Regions from separate parts of the Homo sapiens genome. Here all the other regions are linked to region 3. Evidence: promoter capture Hi-C in 16 types of primary human blood cells and fetal thymus (Javierre and others, 2016). All regions are on one chromosome and are shown on one strand. Each heading gives the region's core, a stretch centred on a gene start or on the middle of the fragment in contact. The rest is flanking DNA. Distances are from core to core; before and after follow the strand shown.

Region 1 (3,587 bases), core at 914-3,413, 210 kb before region 3:
TCAGTAAACTATCACAAGGACAAAAACCAAACACTGCATGTTCTCACTCATAGGTGGGAATTGAACAATGAGAACACATGGACACAGGAAGGGGAACATCACACTCGGGACTGTTGTGGGGTGGGGGGAGGGGGGAGGGATAGCATTAGGAGATACACCTAATGCTAAATGACGAGTTAATGGGTGCAGCACACCAGCATGGCACATGTATACATATGTAACTAACCTGCACATTGTGCACATGTACCCTAAAACTTAAAGTATAATAATAATAAAATAAAATTAAATTAAAAAAAAAGAAGTTATGTGATCGGCCAGGCACGGTGGCTCATGCCTGTAATCCCAGCACTTTGGGAGGCTGAGGCAGGTGGATCACGAGGTCAGGAGTTCAAGACCAGCCTGGCCATGATGAAACCCCATCTCTACTAAAAATACAAAATTAACCGAGTGTGGTGGCACACCTATAGTTCCAGCTACTCGGAAGGCTGAGGCAGGAGAATTGCTTGTACTCGTGAGGCAGAGGTTGCAGTGAGCCGAGATCGCGCCATTGCACTCCAGCCTGGGCAACAGAGGGAGACTCCGTCTCAAAAAAAAAAAAGTTACGTGGTCTGCCTTATTTTTAAACGAACCATTCCTTGGACCCCACGCCACACTTACCAACAACAAATCATAGGCATGTACTTACTTACCTTTCATTTCCCACAATGATCCAGGATTCCAATAGCTCTAAGACAGATGACTGGAGTGGGAGGGAGACGGGGGAAAGAGGTTTATTTGAAAGCATTCCATAGACAAGCAGAGGATTTTCAAAAAATATTTTGAGAGAATATATTTCTCTGGCATAAGGACTGAAACTTAAATTCAACCTTTGGCTATCTCTAAACACTAAAGAATACTCTTGGTTAGTACTGACTTTGCCATTAAAAAATAACTTTTTTATACTGGTTTTTATTTTTCATACTGGTATATTTTTATACTGGTTCCTTTTCCTATGTTTACTATTCACTCAGGATATTATGAAAAGAAGCCATCCTAGATCGAATTTGAATAGAAATTGTGGAGCCATTCGATAGAGAATTACAAGAAATAGCAGTTTGTGGTAAATTCCAATGGCCTAACAACATACACTGAAGGAAAGCAGTTAGGACTTAAGTGATTTTACCTTTGAAGAACCATGAATGATATACCAAAACAAACAAAAAAATTGCTGTAGGCAAAATGGGATTTATTTTTGTAAAACAATGATATCTCGACTATTTTGCTTATTTTTTTTCCTCTGCTAAAATGTCCCTGAATTTGTCTACCGAAAAACCTGTGTATAAAAAAACTTTAATTCAAGATTACAAACCAGCAGCTACTCGCCTGCCTTGAGGGGCTGGATTAATATTATTCATTTTCATTTGCGGGCTGTAGTTGCACTTCACTGTCTATCCTCTAGGAATGAAAAGGAGTGAGGAGTTATCCGAGTTCAACTAACTGATAATTTTCATAATAATTTATAACTATTAAAGTCAAAGTTTTGTTGTTACTTTCTAGCATGCTTTTTCTAGATGGGAATAATGGGAACAGGGCAAGGTATTTTAATACTGAGGAGTTAATCTCCTTTTGAAATTCCCATCACCTGGGAGGGTTGGACAGCATCTGAATTGTTCCATTCAAGGCCTGGGGCTAAGCCCATCTGTTTCACTAGACATTTTCCTGGCTAGCTCCAGGTGTCACCAGCTGTTAGACATGACTAGAATGACACAGCCTGTAATTTTATTAATAGAGTACATTAAATGACATTTTCTAAACCAAACAGCCTTTAAAAAACTATTTATGAATCACTACCCTGCATTTAATATCAAAATCATATTTTTCAAATGAAACACAAATTAGGGAAATTACTATTTTTGTTACATAGTGAATATTTTTGTTACATACCCTTGCTTTATCAAATAAATGCTTTATCAAATGAAAGCACTTTGAAAATTGAAGCATCATATATGTTTAAGATTAAATTATAAGTAAGTTTTCCATACAGTTGGATGTCAAAATGGGATAACTGTTTGGAACACATGGTTGTTTATTTTACATATATGCAAATCATAAGACATCTTCTAAACAAATTCTCAGTTTTAGTTATATATATCTTCTAAACAAATTCCCAATTTTAGTTATGTATGTTTCAACAGTATAAATAAGAGTATTCTCTGGGAAGATTAATGTGAATTCTAGCAAAAATATTTTAAAGACTTGCTGAATCTATTTTTATAGGCATAGAAGTGCTTCATGACTATTTCGTTGATTTATGAGTGAAAGAGGATGTTTTTTACTGGATCTTTGGCCACCAGTTTTTGGCTATTTATTACTTATTTTTTTAGTAACAGTTACATTTGTGAGCTATTGAACTATGGCTGGAAAATAACTTTTCTTAAAACTGATAAGAATTTTAAACTATTTTTCCCCAAAGAAACTATAAAACAAGTAGTTAATTTTTTTTGCACATGTATAGGTATATGATCAAATAAAAAGCAAATCAGTCCTCATTTAGCATCTGAGACTTTTAGCTCCTAAATACAACAAGTGTATTAATTTTAACATTACCACAGTGGCCTCTCCTTCATAAACATTCAGAAGGAAGCTCATTCCCCTTAGTTTGCAAGTATCTGCCAGTGTAAGGAACATTTTGTCTCTAGATCACAGCACCTATGACCTGAGCAGCCAAGGAAAGAGAAGGTCAAGACTTTAAGGGTAATGGAACCTACAATCATAAGTATTCTAGTGGATTGTGAACAAATAAATCAGAAAAGAAGAATACTAACATACAGTTTTCCTGAGTTACCTTAAGTGGTATGAGGTATTCTTAGTAAGGTTTATTACAAAATTCAGTATCTCCCATGAGAAAGGAAGCTAGGTTTAAGCATTTGATTATGTGAGTTTAGTTGGCCCTTCACCCTTCAAGACATGGGCCAGTACCGTGGGGTTTAGTTCTTATATGGGAAATAATCTGTACCTCTTCCAAAGGGTGGGCTGGTAGCTAAAGTTATTTATTTCCTGAAAATATAAAAAAATGGCATCTATATGTAAATGCTAAAATGTAAAGATGGAAATTTCTACAGGCTTTTAATTTATAGGCATTTTCCTGCTTTATATTTTCTATCAACCTTTATATTTTTGCTGATAGAGTTGAAAACTAAAAGCCCTATCCCTCAAGGAACTTACAGTCCAGTGACATTACTTATGGAGAGAGTAAAGCAGGGTAAGGAGACAGAAAATTAGGGGTGCTTTTTCAGATGGAAATATGTTTCTGAGCTCACATATATATAAAGCTGTAAGAACTACATGTAAACATACTGATCAAAAAATGCTCTTCTAATGTATGCATGCTCAAAAGAAGCAAGTATCATAAATTGTATCTGAACACGGAAATCACATCCAACCAGCTTTGATGGAAGGAGAAGAGCACTTTACAGTTTTAAGTCTTACATTTGGGTCTCTGATCAATTTTGAATTAGTTTTTGTACATGGTATGAGTTAAGGGTCCAACTTCATTATTTTGCATGCAGATATCCAGTTGTGTCAATACAATTTGTTGAAAAAAACTA
Region 2 (3,451 bases), core at 219-2,718, 170 kb before region 3:
CAGATGATCCTCCCCTCCCCACCTCCACCTACCAAAGTGCTGGGATTACAGGCGCGAGCCACCACACCCAGCCACTGTTTTTTAAAACGATTAAATCAAGATCAAGAAACATATTGTTCACCAACAGCTGTTGCCTAGGAATAAATCTCTGTGTAGATGTTTTTCAGGTATAATCTGCTTTATGCATGATGCACTGATACTATTGATTCCAGTGTACCTTTTTTTAAAAGTCATGACTCAAAAAATAAGTAGAAAAATCTCTTCTTAAGGGTTTCAGTGATTAACAGACCAAATTTTATTGTGTATTTCTTCTGTTACTGTATTGATTCAAACTCTACACGTCACTGGTATTTTTCTCACTCTGAAGTGACATGTCTGTTAGTATGTGCACAATAGCAAGTTCTCTCTTACGTGACATCCTTCAGTTCATTTGATAAAGGTTTTTTTCCAATAGCTTGTTCTGGTTTTGTTTGTTTGTGAGTGTAATATTTATCATTAACTGTGTGGCTGGTATAATAAATCCCTTGGCAGTAGTTTGACTACCTGGTTTCCTTATAAGGAGTGTAAATTCAAATAAATCCATTGTATTTTTGGCTCTTTAGCAACAAAATTAATCACTTTTATGCTGGAAAGCATTACTTAGTAGTTGTTCTGGAAAGACTCCTACAGGTCCCTTGGCTTTGTTTGAAAGTGAAACAAAAACTGTGATATCTTCAGGCCACTGGTCTCACCAAGTTTCTTTCTCTCTCTTTTTTAATTTTCATATATTTTTTGAGATGGGGTCTTACTCCCATCGCCCAAGCTGGAATGCAGTGGTGTGATCATGGCTAACTGCAGCCTTGACTCCCAGGCTCAGATGATTCTCCCGCCTCAGCCTCCCAAGTAGCTGGGACTACAGGCACACTCCACCATGGCTGGCTAATTTTTTGTATTTTTAGTAGAGATGGGGTTTTGCCATGTTGCCCAGGCTGGTCTTGAACTCCTGGTCTCAAGCAGTCCACATACCTCAGCTTCCCAAAGTGCTGGGATTGTAGGCATGAGCCACCACACCCAGTCTTCTGACCAGATTTCATGACAGGTAGCTAGGAGCAAATAGATGGATGACTCAAATGAAAATTTTAAATATTCATTATCTTAATTTTCTGTTTATAACTTTCCTTTTCTGCTCCTTTTGTGACATCACTCTCATCCTAACACATACACGTTTATATTCTATATTCACTGTATTGGAGTCCTGTTAATTTCAAAATTTATTGTGTTTTTATAAGTTGCATTATTTACGGTTCTATTTTCATTACTACTTTTAATTCTTTTGTGACTCATGAACCATTTTTATTGCTTGGAGGTGTGATAAAGCATACAACAAAAATACAGACTTAGTAAATGCAAACAGCACTCAGAAGACATAAAAATACATTAGCTGAGATGAACTGAATGTGGTAATGAATGTGAATTATATATGTCATTTTTGTAGAACTCTGACAACCTTTAGAATAATTATGTTCAATAAGACTACTGTAAGATTTCTGGGAAAATAATCTTGCCTTCCAAATTACTGAAAGATATGTAGTCTACACTTTGAAAATCTAATGGGTTAGGGGACCACTATGCACCACTGCTATTAAGTCCAATCAGTTGGCTGCAAGTGTTAGATGTCTTCAGAATGGTGATCTCTTTTGTTTTATAGTAACTATATTTCCATGTTGCCTATGAGAATTGAAGACTAACTCTTCATTTGGAATTTATTTTGTTTGGATTTAAATGAGTAAAATTGTAATGGTACTTAGACTTACAAATTAATTTTTAAAAAATGTTAGTACCAAAATATTTACTGTCCTTTAGGTTTTTCATTGGTTCTTCATACTCTTTAACTGATTGAGCTATAGGTTTGCTTAAATAGAAGAAAAAATGTTTTACTACTAGATGGGGAGTAGGAGGCAATGAGGAAGTCAAGAGGAAGGGGATCTGAAGTACTCCATCTTGGACACATGTAAGTATCTTCTTGAATTCTGTAGGCATTTTAGTGCCTGCTATTTCCTCTTTTTCTTCCTTTCCTCCTACTCCCATAAATAAAAAGAAAATAATAAGGAACTTCCCATTCGCAAACTTAAACAAGGTACTTTTTTAAAAGTATGCTTTTATTTGCATTTTATTGCCTGGAGCCTGTCTTATAGGCCCAGTCTCTGTCTCTGTCTCCCTCTCTCTTTTACCTATACATTTACTGATTAAGTAGATTGTCAGCTATAGTTATAGCAGTCTTTGATAGAGAATAAAGATATGTTTAGAGAATTTTGAATCACATTTTCTTTCTCTTTTCTGATATGTGTTAGTCTTGTGCTACCATTCTCCCTGTTATCTAAGGTCAAAAACCTTATCTTTGATTCTTTCACACTTCATATTGTCAGTGTTCCAAAACTTGATCAGTCTCTTCTTTATTTTCTGCGCTGCTACATTTTGGTCCAGGTGCCCATATGCTGTCTGAGATTACAATGGCTTAGTCAGACACATTGATTCTAGGTTCTCATTCTTCTAATATTCCAGTTTATATCTTAAAAATTACTTTTATTTAATATTAGCATTCCTCTTTTTTCTGCCCTATAGCCTTAAATTTTAGGAAGTGTCTGGAACCTTATGCTGCCCTAACTAAGCAATCTTATTTTCTACTATTCTCCAACATGGGAGAGTAATTCTAATTCATTTGGTACTGCTCTTATGCCAGGAACTGTGCTAGGTACTTCATACATATTACAACTTTAAGTCCTTAAAACTACCTTGTACAGTTGATATTCCAATGTCCTTTTTAAATGTTCTGAGATTCACAGGAGTTAATATAACTTGTTCAAAGTCACAGCTAGCATGGGTGGAATAGGAATTTAAATTATCAATTTCTGTGATCTCCCAAAGCCTGTGTTTTTTCCACATCTTTCTCTTGTAATGTTTAAAATTCACTTTTTGTCAGAATGACTTTCCTTAGTATCCCATAGTATATCTATTCTTAATATTATAACATTAACATAATGTGGCTCTTCCTGCAGTTCTATTTCTGCCTATCCAAATTGTATCTATATTTAAATACCAACTTAAAAGGATTTTTTTTCTGTATTCCTGAATCACATTTGTTGTTGATCTTCTTTTTCTCAACTTTTGTAGCTCTTTTAATGTCTTATTCTATTTCCTGTAGTTCATACACGTTAATCTTACATCCTCAACTGGGTAGGAATTCTTCAAGGGCAAAAGCCAAATTTATGCTGCTGCTTTAAATTAAGCCCCATAGGCAGGGAGGGCACAGCCCCTAGAAGACTCTAAATGAATCCTTAATGGCTGATTGGTCATACAATGAAATTTTTGGAAGATTTGTTCTAGTTTTCAAAAATTTAAATTTAAATCATTTTTGTCTACCTGCATTTTCTTGTATACTAGTTTGTGTTAACAATTAAAAGGTAGATTTAAA
Region 3 (3,099 bases), core at 567-3,066:
TGGATCACCTGAGGTCAGGAGTTTGAGACCAGCCTCGCCAACATGATGAAACCCCGTCTCTACTAAAAATACAAAAAATTAGCTGTGCATGGTGGTGGGCGCCTATAATCCCAGCTACTTAGGAGCCTGAGGCAGGAGAATTGCTTGAACCCGGGAGGAGGAGGTTGCATTGAGCCAAGATTGCACCACTGCACTCCAGCCTGGGCAACAGGAGTGAAGCTCCGCCTCAAACAAAACAAAACAAAAAAAAAACAAAAGAAGCTAAGCCTCAGAACCATTGCACCTGCCATTCCCTCTGCCTGTCCTGCCCTTTCCTCAGCTATCCACATGGCAGGTTCCTCAAGTCTTGCAGGTCTTTGCTGAAACGCCACTCCCCCAGAGGAGACATCCCTGACCACTCTGCCTGGCACTCTTTGTTCCCCTTACTCCAGAGCATCTATCACCAACTCACACACTACATATATTCATTTACTCTGTCTCCCATACCAGAATGTAAATCCTTTGAGGGCAGGGATTTTATCTGTCCTGTTCGCTATATGACAATGACATAGAGTAAGGATTGAGCTCAATAATTACTGAGTACATGAATATCACAAGCTATACATCATAGGGATTAGGCCTCCCTCATCTGATTCAAGACTCAGAGGGGGTACATGAACTGCCCAGGCTCACACAGCCAGACAGCAACAGAACCAAGACCTAGGGCTCTTCACTCCTGTTACATCACACCATGGCAATGATTTTACATTCTCCAACTGATTCAAATCATATGGCAGCTAGGGATTTGGGGGCTCCATGTTTTATTTCAATTGCAGTTCAAGATTTCTTTTTATCTTTGTGGCTGAGAACCCTACAATAATTTTGGAAAGCAAAACCCATCTACCTGGAGTAAATCTTTAATATACACCTGACTACACAGGCCACAACATGGGCCGTTCCTGATTCAGAAAATTCTAGAAGGGTCCTATAGGCCCTTGAAGGTTATGATGTTTTAGCTGATCAAGTTCTGTCCTTTGCTGCCTGTGGTCGAATGGTACAGCAGCTGTCTTTTCTGATAAAGGGCACAGTTAGACTTTGGTTTAAACAGGAAGCCAAATGTTAACTCCTCAGTCTCCAGGTTAGCACACTGGGCTACCTCTGTGGTTTCCACAATTCTCTTCTTTCTTTCCAAACCCTCAGGAGCCACCCTCCATATTAACGCTGTCTCCTTCCAGGTTAAGCTGATGAAAGGAAGGGGAAAACGATTCACTTTCCAAAATTGAATCGGAGAAGTCCAGGGCCTCATAGGAGGAGGCCGCTGTGTGTCCAGATGGCCAAAGGTCTGTGAGAGCCTGGGCCGTGGTTTGCGTCCTCTCGCTAGAGGCCGTGCGCCCTCCCGCCTGGCCCCGACAAGGCGCCCCGAAACCTAGCCCCGCGCCGCTCGCTAGGCCTCCACCTGCGCGGCCCCGCAGCCGCCTGTTCAGGAGCGGCTTCCTCCCTGAGCCTGCGGTCGCCGCAGCCTCCCCGTCTTAGAGCGGGAACCCGGAGCTCGGATGCGGTCCCAGGATGGGCGCCCCGCGAGCAGGCTGGAGGGCGGGGAGAGGGCGCGGCAGCCGCGGGCCTCGGTTTCTTCATCTGCAAAGGGAAGGGTGGGGGGTCCCCAAGACCCCAGTCCACCGGCAGGGACGGCGACGCGTCCGGCCTCCGCCGCGCCCGCAACACTTGTCCCGGGCGCCCCCCGCCCTCTCCCGGACCTACTTCCCCGAGCCGCTCACGCCCATCACCAGCAGCGCGCCCGGCGCCGCCATAACCCAAGCTCGGCTCCTTCCCGTCGCCTTCCGGGCCCCGCCGGCCCCGGCCTACCCGGCGCTCGAGGGGCGGAGCCGCTCTCGCCCCGGCCGGGGCAGTGAGGGCCGTGCCCCTCTGCGCCCTCCCCGTTTTCCCGCGCCCCTTTTCCATGCTTTCCTCCTCCCTTTCCCAACCTCCCGGCCTCTCTCTCCTGCCCCTTCTTTTCCTCTCCCCTCCCCTCCCTCTTTCCTCTTCCCGGAAGTGAAGCGCGCGCCCGGCCTGGCACTCGCGTCTCCCTGGGCTGGAGGGAGCCGCCCAAAGCCCCGCCACCTGTCGTTCTACTGCCCCGGCCCCTCTTGGTTCCAGAGGATCCTCACCCTGGCAGGCCGGATCCTCATCCACCCATGGAAAGCATTCATTCATTCATTTATAAAAATGTTCTTGTAAAAAGAATAAACAGAAAATAAGACTCATAATTTCCCACACCAGGCAGCAATAAGCAGCACTTCCTAAAACGACTCCCCTTTCCCCGCGCCCCGTCGTAGATAGATGGGTATGAGTATTTTGTAAAACTGGGATCAGGCCGTACACAGCGTTTTGTAATCTGGCCTTTTGTCACAATAATAAATGGCGGCCATCTTTTGGTGTCAAACTTAGGGTTGAGTGTTGACCGTAGCAGCATATGTCTTGGCTGTATGGCTCTGCTGTTAAATCCAGCACTGGTTGGGGCTTTAAGAGGAAGGAGCACCACTTTAAAGTGTCCATTTGCTTTAAAACAATGTTAATTATGTGTCGTTTGAACTATTTGATTAAAAGCACTTCTTTTTTTTTTTGAGACGGAGTCTCGCTCTGTCGCCCAGGTGGGACTGCGGACTGCAGTGGCGCAATCTCGGCTCACTGCAAGCTCCGCTTCCCGGGTTCACGCCATTCTCCTGCCTCAGCCTCCCGAGTAGCTGGGACTACAGGCGCCCGCCACCGCGCCCGGCTAATTTTTTTTGTATTTTTAGTAGAGACGGGGTTTCACCTTGTTAGCCAGGATGGTCTCGATCTCCTGACCTCATGATCCACCCGCCTCGGCCTCCCAAAGTGATTAAAAGCACTTCTAACCGCATTTGGCATCACCTCCTTTGGTCTTTTGTTAACCAAGGTAGGTATTACTCTGTGTCCTAGAAAACAATAAAAGTGACATAAAAGCATTTATCTAATGAATAGTTCAATTACCCCTGCACTGCCTTTGTTTTTCATATACTTAGCCCGAGTAGGTGAGATTTCAATCTGGATGGGGGCTGTACAGGTGAAGAAATTGAGGCTTGGAGAGAGGTCTTACAATTC

Evidence for each region. The method cuts DNA at HindIII sites, captures the fragments that hold promoters and counts their contacts. A CHiCAGO score of 5 or more calls a contact.
Region 1: a contact is called between a fragment that was not itself captured here and the fragment with the promoter of IDNK in region 3, in 1 of 17 cell types (non-activated CD4 T cells). The highest score is 5.8, in non-activated CD4 T cells.
Region 2: a contact is called between a fragment that was not itself captured here and the fragment with the promoter of IDNK in region 3, in 2 of 17 cell types (activated CD4 T cells and naive CD8 T cells). The highest score is 6.4, in activated CD4 T cells.

What each region holds. Positions count from the first base shown.
Region 1 is chr9:83,828,715-83,832,301 of GRCh38, reverse strand. LOC101927552 (a long non-coding RNA gene) reads right to left here. Exons shown (of 6, transcript XR_001746793.2): 3 at 1,349-1,434; 4 at 690-739. Among named protein-coding and RNA genes, the nearest start is that of GKAP1, 13 kb to the right of the region's middle. The HindIII fragment of the contact is 4,857 bases long and covers 1-3,587 here.
Region 2 is chr9:83,791,490-83,794,940 of GRCh38, reverse strand. The region is part of intron 4 of GKAP1 (G kinase anchoring protein 1); the gene reads left to right. Among named protein-coding and RNA genes, the nearest start is that of GKAP1, 25 kb to the left of the region's middle. The HindIII fragment of the contact is 5,208 bases long and covers 1-3,451 here.
Region 3 is chr9:83,621,860-83,624,958 of GRCh38, reverse strand. IDNK (IDNK gluconokinase) reads right to left here and starts at 1,816. Exons shown (of 5, transcript NM_001001551.4): 1 at 1,738-1,816. The coding sequence starts at 1,787. RefSeq lists enhancers at 1,212-1,261, 1,282-1,411 and a silencer at 1,592-2,121. The HindIII fragment of the contact is 10,566 bases long and covers 1-3,099 here.